Linked DNA regions of Homo sapiens: all the other regions are linked to region 1. Evidence: promoter capture Hi-C in 16 types of primary human blood cells and fetal thymus (Javierre and others, 2016). All regions are on one chromosome and are shown on one strand. The core of a region is centred on a gene start or on the middle of the fragment in contact, and the rest is flanking DNA. Distances in the headings are between cores, read along the strand shown. Region 1 holds the start of PEX2 (peroxisomal biogenesis factor 2). Region 2 has its middle 280 kb from the start of PKIA. Region 3 has its middle 290 kb from the start of PKIA.

Evidence for each region. The method cuts DNA at HindIII sites, captures the fragments that hold promoters and counts their contacts. A CHiCAGO score of 5 or more calls a contact.
Region 2: a fragment that was not itself captured here is called in contact with the fragment with the promoter of PEX2 in region 1 in 2 of 17 cell types (megakaryocytes and monocytes); the score reaches 8.0 in megakaryocytes.
Region 3: a contact is called between a fragment that was not itself captured here and the fragment with the promoter of PEX2 in region 1, in 1 of 17 cell types (monocytes). The highest score is 8.6, in monocytes.

What each region holds. Positions count from the first base shown.
Region 1 is chr8:76,998,717-77,001,424 of GRCh38, forward strand. PEX2 (peroxisomal biogenesis factor 2) reads right to left here and starts at 1,362. Exons shown (of 4, transcript NM_000318.3): 1 at 1,274-1,362. RefSeq lists an enhancer at 1,357-1,651. The HindIII fragment of the contact is 1,935 bases long and covers 1,333-2,708 here.
Region 2 is chr8:78,238,872-78,241,579 of GRCh38, forward strand. No RefSeq gene overlaps it. Among named protein-coding and RNA genes, the nearest start is that of PKIA, 280 kb to the right of the region's middle. The HindIII fragment of the contact is 1,410 bases long and covers 644-2,053 here.
Region 3 is chr8:78,221,218-78,223,925 of GRCh38, forward strand. No RefSeq gene overlaps it. Among named protein-coding and RNA genes, the nearest start is that of PKIA, 290 kb to the right of the region's middle. The HindIII fragment of the contact is 4,524 bases long and covers 1-2,708 here.

The DNA.
Region 1 (2,708 bases), core at 112-2,611:
TGGGCTTGCTTTGTCTCTCCCTGCACGGCTCCAGAAAATTTCTACACAAGTTCTCCTATGGAACAGTTTTAAAACCCCAGCTTGAGTACTAACACTAGTTTCTAAAAATAAGGAGAATACGGCCAAGAGGTAAAATTGTACAAAGGCAACTAGAGTCAGGACTAGAATCCAACTGTCTTGATTTAGTCTAATACTCTTCAGTCTACTAGTCTAGTATTCGCTCTATGTCCTGTTACTTCTATTTTTTTTTTTAAGAAAAAAATATGAAGGGTTTTTTTTTTTGACTCTGTAAATAATTCTTTCAAATCTCTTTCTGGCTCAAGATCACTCAACTGTAATCTTTCTGGAAACAAGTAATTGATAATATAGGTGAGATCAGATAAGTTAAAAGAGCCACCCCAAGTTCATTCTGTTCAGGATTAAGTAAAGGTAACACTTTAGGGGAAGGTGTTTAGACTACAAGCTGCGGTGTTGTGAGCGCCCAAGTATCATTTAATTGTCCGAAACGTCAAGATAAAATATTTCCGAGGGGCATCACGGAAGTTTAACAGAATGTGTTAGACTTGAACGTTCAACAGCTTGCTCATTTTGCCAAAAGCCCTTTCACTAAATGTGGGAAATTTGGAAAATGGTACCTCAATAAATAAACAAACAACGATTTTTAATTTAAGAACCCAGGAAAAAATGTTAACAATTCTCACATTCAGATTTCTTATCAAAAGTCAACGTGAAATATAACTAATTTATCGCAAGCAATTTTATCAGAAACTTTTCATTATCTCTTCCTCCATAAGAAAACCAAACTGCATTTACGTGCGCTTTCAACAGTGTTAGAAAACTAAGCACTCAAATTTTTTGTACTACATATAACACTTTACATGAACTTTCAGATATTAAGTAAAGTTTGGATCCTCAATTCTTTATAAAGCCGTTTATAAGAGGTAAATATCTTCACGACCGCCAAATGAGAGAAAAAGATTTCGAAGTTCGTCTCTTAAGTTACTACGTGGAATGCAGAGGGGCTCAACTGCAGCTGTGTGTGTGTTTATTTTTAATGCCGCGATCCTAAAAACATCTTTAGGAGTTTAGGTTTGCTTCACTGCCTTTCCCAAAATTCAGCAGCTTTGATTTGCCTTTTCCAGGGAGACAGGAAGCCAATAAACAGGGAAAAAAAAGCAAACGGCGACAATTACAAGGTCGTGAAACTCCACGACCTCCCAGCTGAAAACAAGACCTCGGGTTTGCACTCCGGCTCTCTAGGGCAGACACTGACCTTAGGAGTCTGCGAAACGCCCACGCTCCACGTAACTTTCTCTGAAACATTCTCTGGAAAGCTTGTCTTTTCCTAGCCGAATCTGGATTACCAAGGCTTCCGGAACTCGCAGGCTTCCGGAGCGACGCAGGAGCCGGAAGTGGCTGAAAAAAAAAAGAAAAAGTTACACCAACGAGAACTGCGCTTTAGCGGCGCTGCTGAAGGCACTGGATGGCCAAACAACCGCGAACGCCGACAAGCCGAAGAGCCGAAGGGCCGAAAAGCCGAAGCGGACACCCGCGCGCGGTGATTGGCCGGTTGGCCGGAAGAACTCTGTCTCTGATTGGCAGGAGAGTCACGAACCGGTCAGCCCCGGGTCAGGGGCCGCAAGTGAGGACACTACAAGTGTCGAGGGGCCTAGGGGAAGCCGGGGCTTGGGAGGGCAGGGCTTTCTCTGCTTGCGGACATCGCGAAGGGCCTCTGGCAGGCGCCGCCGGGTGGCGGCGAGACGCCTCCGCGCCTCCGGGGTTCCTTGTTCGCTGTCGGAGGAGGACCGGCTGAGGGATGGCCTGGTGGGGAGGGAGCCCTCGGGCAGGTGGCTGCGTCGGGCCTGGGGCAGTTGTGCTGCGCTTGGAGACCTGCCCGCCCTCGGGGCCTGTGTGCACAGGGAGGATAGGCTGTTTATCTCTGCAGGCTCAGGAAGGCAGGTAGCTGGCCCGTCAGTCATCCGCCCTGCAAAGCGCTCCCGAGAGACCCCGTAGAGCGGGCCAGCGCGCGCCTGGCCTGAGGTTTCCCGCCCCCGGAGGCCCTCACATCTCCCCGGTAACGCTTAGGAATTCGGGCAGCCAGCTCGCCTACCCCTGGGGAATCGAGGCAGAGCTTCTGGGAATGGGGTCTGAGGGAAGAGTGCTCACCAGGCAGTGACATGTAGCCGTTGAGGATCGCCACTGCCTTCTCGTTCTGTGGTATGAATGGCAGTGTCTCTCTAGAGAGTTAGTGCTTAAGTTTGAATGATGGCAGGCACTTCAGGATTCCAGCACGTAGTAGGGTTTAAGAACGTCTTAGTTCTTACCTCCAGTCTCGACTCACCGTTCCTACAAGGAACACTCACTTCTACGAAAGCTCTATTAGACATTCGAGGGAGAGCTTATACTGTAGAACCAGTGTTATTAGGAAAGTTTTTTTTTTTTTGCTTGTATTTTTATTTCAGAAACTACCCATGGAGCAGAGTTGCTAAAATAAAATTTATTAACTCTAATGCTATCCAAATTGTGAAACAATGGTACAAATGAGATAGAGTAGAAGCTACAAATTGATAGAGTATGTAGTTCACTTAGGGGTTTGGGAGTGGATTTTCTAGAGCTGCAACTGTCCAGTGTAGTAGTCACTGGCCACCTGAAAAGTGGCTAGTCTGAACTGAGGTCTGCTCTAAGTGTAGAACATGCACCAGATTTCT
Region 2 (2,708 bases), core at 99-2,598, 1.2 Mb after region 1:
ACACTCCCACAGGTAAATATGGGCCACTTATTTATTTACTTACTTATTTTGTCATTCAAGCCCCTTCACCTTCTGGATTGATCATTTCCTCTCAAGTAACAGCCATGTACCCAAACCACATCCAAATTGAACTTCACCTCTTCTTTCTTCATCCATGCTTCATTCTCTGCCTAGTATGCCCCATCCTTACCTCACTTCACTCCACCATGGATTTTTGCTGACCCCTTTATACACTTTACTCAGCATTCAGTCCAAGCCTTCTCAAATTCTCAGAGGCATGTCAGTGGTTGGAGTCTTTGAGACTTAAAGTGAACATCTACAGCACCAATTTTAGCTTTTTACACATCCATTCTTCTATTTGCATGTGAGGTCCACATGGGCATGCCTGTATCTTAATTTTCTTTTCAAACTCTGTATGCAGAGGATTGCCTAAACTACAGTTGCCATATAGTGGGTATTCAACTAATATATGGGATTGGTTAATGAAGAACTGAAATGTATTGTATATAAAGATATTCTTTGTTTCAAAAACCAATCGTGAAAATAAAAGGATGACAAGGCATAGTCTTCAGAGAAATTCAGATAAAACTAAATGAAAGATGATTAATTGACCGTAATTCAAAATGTGTCAAGAGAGTGTCTAAGCTTATTTAAAAAGTGTGTCTATACCAGGGTTATCCTTATAGACATCCAATGGCTTAAAATGAGATAAATGATCAACTGGTTTTACCTTGCATAAGTCAGATCACTTCCAGAACATTGTGTTCAGTGACTGAACCACATTGACATGAACAAACTAAAGTCCTATCAGATGCAACCTATCTGTGTCTGGTGAGTAAATGCTTTACTGTAGAGTTTAAGAACACATTGAAGGATTTAGAGAAATTTAGTGAGAAGAAGAGATGACTGTAAAATATGTCAATAATTTATATATGGATAAAGGATTTTTTTTTCTGTACAACTCTAAGGAGCAGAACTAGAACAATGAATGAATAGTTGCTATAGGTAAAATCCACCAAGTAAATTAAAGAGGGAAAAAGAATTTTCATTCAGTGATATGCCAGGAATTTGCATCTACTTCATATCATTTAATCTTTAAACAGCCCTGAGAGCAAATTATTATCTTCCTCTGAGGAAAATAAGGTTTGATGAGATTATCTTAAAAGGATGTATTCATTTGGTCATGCTGTCTGTTATCGGGAATTTCAAATTGAAAGCAATGGAGTATCTATCATGGGAAAATGAAAGGCTGTTCTACTGCAAACAGACAAAAAAAAGCATCTGCTCCTTTTAAAAATGTTTTAATGTAAGCAGGATTCTTCAGCAACTATGGCTGTGCCATATCCAATATTTGTTAAATAAAAATTTAAAAGTAGGCAACACAAATGTCCAAATATCAAAAATTAGAACACTAAATGTAAATGTACTTTTTTAAGTCTGTAATCAAATGCTGAGAGCAAGATTTCAACAAACTGAGCACATGGGGGGGAAGAAAGAGAAAGAGAGAGGGAGATGAGAGATACGTAAGTTCTATGACTATAGAGAACTAGTTTATTTGTTCACTGCAGTGTACCCAGAACCTAGGAGTGTTCTTACACATTTTAAATATTTAATTAGTATTTAACCAGATATGGAAAAGAAGGCTGGATAACTACTTGTTAAAGGGATTAAAAAAATACAGAAAAGTACTTGTTAAAATGTCACTTAAGGTTCTAAAATTCTTTAGTATACAGCCCTCTCACATGAAAGTTAGGATTTATTAAATATAGTATATGAAGAAACCAGAGGGGCCAACAGTTACAAAATTAGGGTATATGTATGTAAATGGATTTCAAATTGGTATGAGAGTCTATCAAGAACGAAGTTTCAGAAAAAATAACAGAATATGCTTTTAAAGGCACTGCTCTTTCTGTGAGCACTACAGAAACACACTGAAGGGGAGAACAAAGGTCTTTTTTTTGTTTTTGTTTTTGTTTTTGTTTTTGTTTTTGTTTTTGAGGTTGAGTCTCTGTCACTCGAGCTGGAGTGCAGAAGCATGATCCCAGCTCCTTGAAGCTTCAACCTTCCAGGCTCAAGCCATCCTCCTGCCTCAGCCTGAGTAGCTGGGATTATAAGCATGCACCACCACTCCCAGCTAATTTTGTTTATATTTTATAAAGACAGGGTCTCACTATGTTGCCCAGGCTGGTCTCAAATTCATGGACTCAAGCAGTCCTCCCACCTCAGCCTCCCAAAGGGTTGGGATTATAGATGTGCACCACCACGCCTGGAGAGAACAAAGGAGTTAATTTTTAGGTAGCATATGTGAGTTAAACTCTTTTACTTTCAATCATCCTCAAAACATAAAATAAATGGAATACAAAAGGCAATATAAGCATTTGAGATTGTTGAAGCTTCTTAATATTTGCAACTCTTAAACCAAAAATATCCAATAAATTGGCTTCAATTAAATATATACATATATATACAAAGTTACCTGTTGTAAACTAATACTTTTCCTTCAAATAAATATCATTCTAAAAAACAGGATTATCATAGGCAAAAATCATAAAATCATAATAATTTTGGCTAACAAGACATTGACATTATAGCTTTTTTGCATACTAAAAAAGGAGTCTGAAAGATGTTTATGGAAACAATCAATTTGAAAAAACATTTATAATAAAATTCTAATTTACTGAATCTGATATCATGTTGACAATGACACT
Region 3 (2,708 bases), core at 73-2,572, 1.2 Mb after region 1:
AGAAGGAGTAAAGCATGCCTTACATGGCATCAGGCAAGAGAGTGTGTTCAGAGGAACTGCCCTTTATAAAACCATCAAATCTTGTGAGACTTATTCACTATCATGACAACAGCATGAGAAAACCTACCTCATAATTAAATTACTTCTCACTGGCTCCTTCCCATGAAATATGGGAATCATGGGAGCTATAATTCAAGATGAGATTTGGGTGGGGACAACGCCAAACCGTATCATGTATATTATAAATTCTCCCTAATTGATCTACCCTGTTGAAGAAATGGAGAATGATGAACAAAAATAAAATGTTATAATGTTGGTGGAGAATTACCTTAAGTAAAGAAAAAGAAGGAATGTGGGGAAAATGTGGAAACAGTACAAAAGAAGCATAATTATGGAAGAAAGATAAAAGTCTGGACATTTTTGATCAGTAATATAGTATAAAATGAAACCTGTTAAAATTTCCCTCTGTGTTACATATTATATTGGCAAATATTTCTCTCTCTCTCTCTCTCAGACACACAGAGAGAGAGAGAGAGTGTGTGTGTGCGTGTGTGTATTTTTGAAAGGGCTCCATCAGTAGATAAAAATAAGGTTCATTAGGCTTTTAAAAATAACTTGTCTCCAATTATCTGCCATAGCTTTGCTTTTCTCGACATGCTCCCTCAAGAGGATATGGACAAGTCCTTCTGGATCACAGACACTTGAAAAGCAGAAGGAAAAGAGGAAGGAAGAGTGGGAATGAATATGTATGTTGCAAACACTGTTAGAAGACTGGTTAGATTTGAGCCTGTAGCATATATATCATCCCTGTCAATTTTCAAAGTGAATTATCCCAACCAACTATATAATTACATATTTCTCTAAACATAATTTTACCATTTGAATAACTTAGAATTTCAGCTTAGAAAAATTAAAAGGAATAGGGTGGTCATTCAAGAAAAACTATTTACCATGAGATGGTTATTCAAGTATCTCAATCTGTTTATGGAAATACATCATTTTAAAATAGACAGTGGTTAAGTTTTTTGATCATTAAATATGAAAGAAGGGAGTATTTAATAGAATTAGTAACACTTGTAGCCTATCAGACTGCTTTCCAAAAGAAAATGCAATTTAGCAAAATGAGTGTGGTTGGAAACTCAGGCAAGAATAACTACCACTTTCTTCAGATCCACCCAAGACTTATACAGTGGCCATTCCAATTAGCATAATGGTCCAATGTTCAGTGGGATGCAAGGTCCTTTGTTAGGGATGCTTCCTCATTTAAAAAACCTGTTTGAAGTGGGGTCTAATTTTAACTTTGCAATGCCAAAATATGGCTTGAAGGGTCTATTTTCAATTCAATAAATGTTGGTATTGCATTTCCAAGTTGAGATAGCTGTCATCAACTGTCTAAAAGACTCATATTTAAGACAAAATGGAGTGACAGAGTATGGAGTACCAGGCTTAAAAAGCTGGTTCTCTGTTCATGTTAATTATACTGAATTGATTATTTATTCTATTAGAATGCTTCTTATTTACAAATGAAGTGCATGTACTAATAGGAATCCCCAAGCTCACTGTAAATGTTACCTGAAGATTAAGAAAATGGAATTAAGAATTTCTTTCCAGTAAATTGTTAAAATATATCTATGAACCCCAAGTGCAAAAGTGGCTTTAGTTGTTTTTATTTTTGTTTAAAAGTTGTGGGTAATATGAACACATGGGTGATTTCAAAGCACTACAGAGAAGTGCTTTAAAAAATTGTTATTCATAGCCCCGCCATTGGTAAGCTAAAATTGTTGCCTTATTTTTATAAATGAGAAAGAACCAGCTATTTGGCAACTCTCTAAGCTAGAGTCAACAATAGTAAGTACATGATGCATCCAGGATAAAAATAAACAAGACCTCTCATTTTCCAGTCACACCATGAGTCACTTTGCTCCAGACAACATTTAAAATGCTAAAATTTTGACCAAATTTATACAGATGAGGGATCCTTGGAAAACAATTATGATAGACATTATAGAAAATATATCAAAAAATGTAGCCAGTAAAAAAAGGCAGTGTTATATTTAACATGTTACTATTGGTGCAGCATAGTAAAGAGAGTGCTTCTCAATCATGACTGGTGTGGTGATCAGTCTCTTAGATGACTCCAGTGATCCCTGCCTTCTTGTGTTCATGCTCATCTATAATCCCCTCCCTTTGAGTGAAGATTGGAGTTGGTAACTTGTTTCAAGTGAACAGAATGTGCAGAGAATGTGATAAAGTAATGAAATGTCACTTTGCCATATTGTGAGTTGGTCTGTGGAGAAACCCGTATGGCAAGGCACTGAGGGAGGCCTCTCGCCAATTTTCAGTAAGGACCCAAGGCCCTCCATATAATAACCGAAGAGCCACTGAATCCTTGCAACAGTCATATGAGTCGCTTTGGACACAGTTTTCCCCCAGTCAAGCCTTCAGATGATACCTGATGTGGTTTGGATGTTTTCTCCCCTCCAAATCTCATGTTGAAATGTGATTGCCCATGTTAGAGGGCAAGCCTGGTGGAAAATGTTTAGGTCATGGGAGTGGATCCCTCATGAATGGTTTGGTGCTGTCTTCATGGTAATGAGTGATTTCCCACACTTCAGTGTCACTGAAGTGTGACACCTGCCCCCCTTCTTTTCCTCCCTCTCTTGCCATATGATGCACTGGTTCTCCCTTCGCCTTTCACCATTATTGTA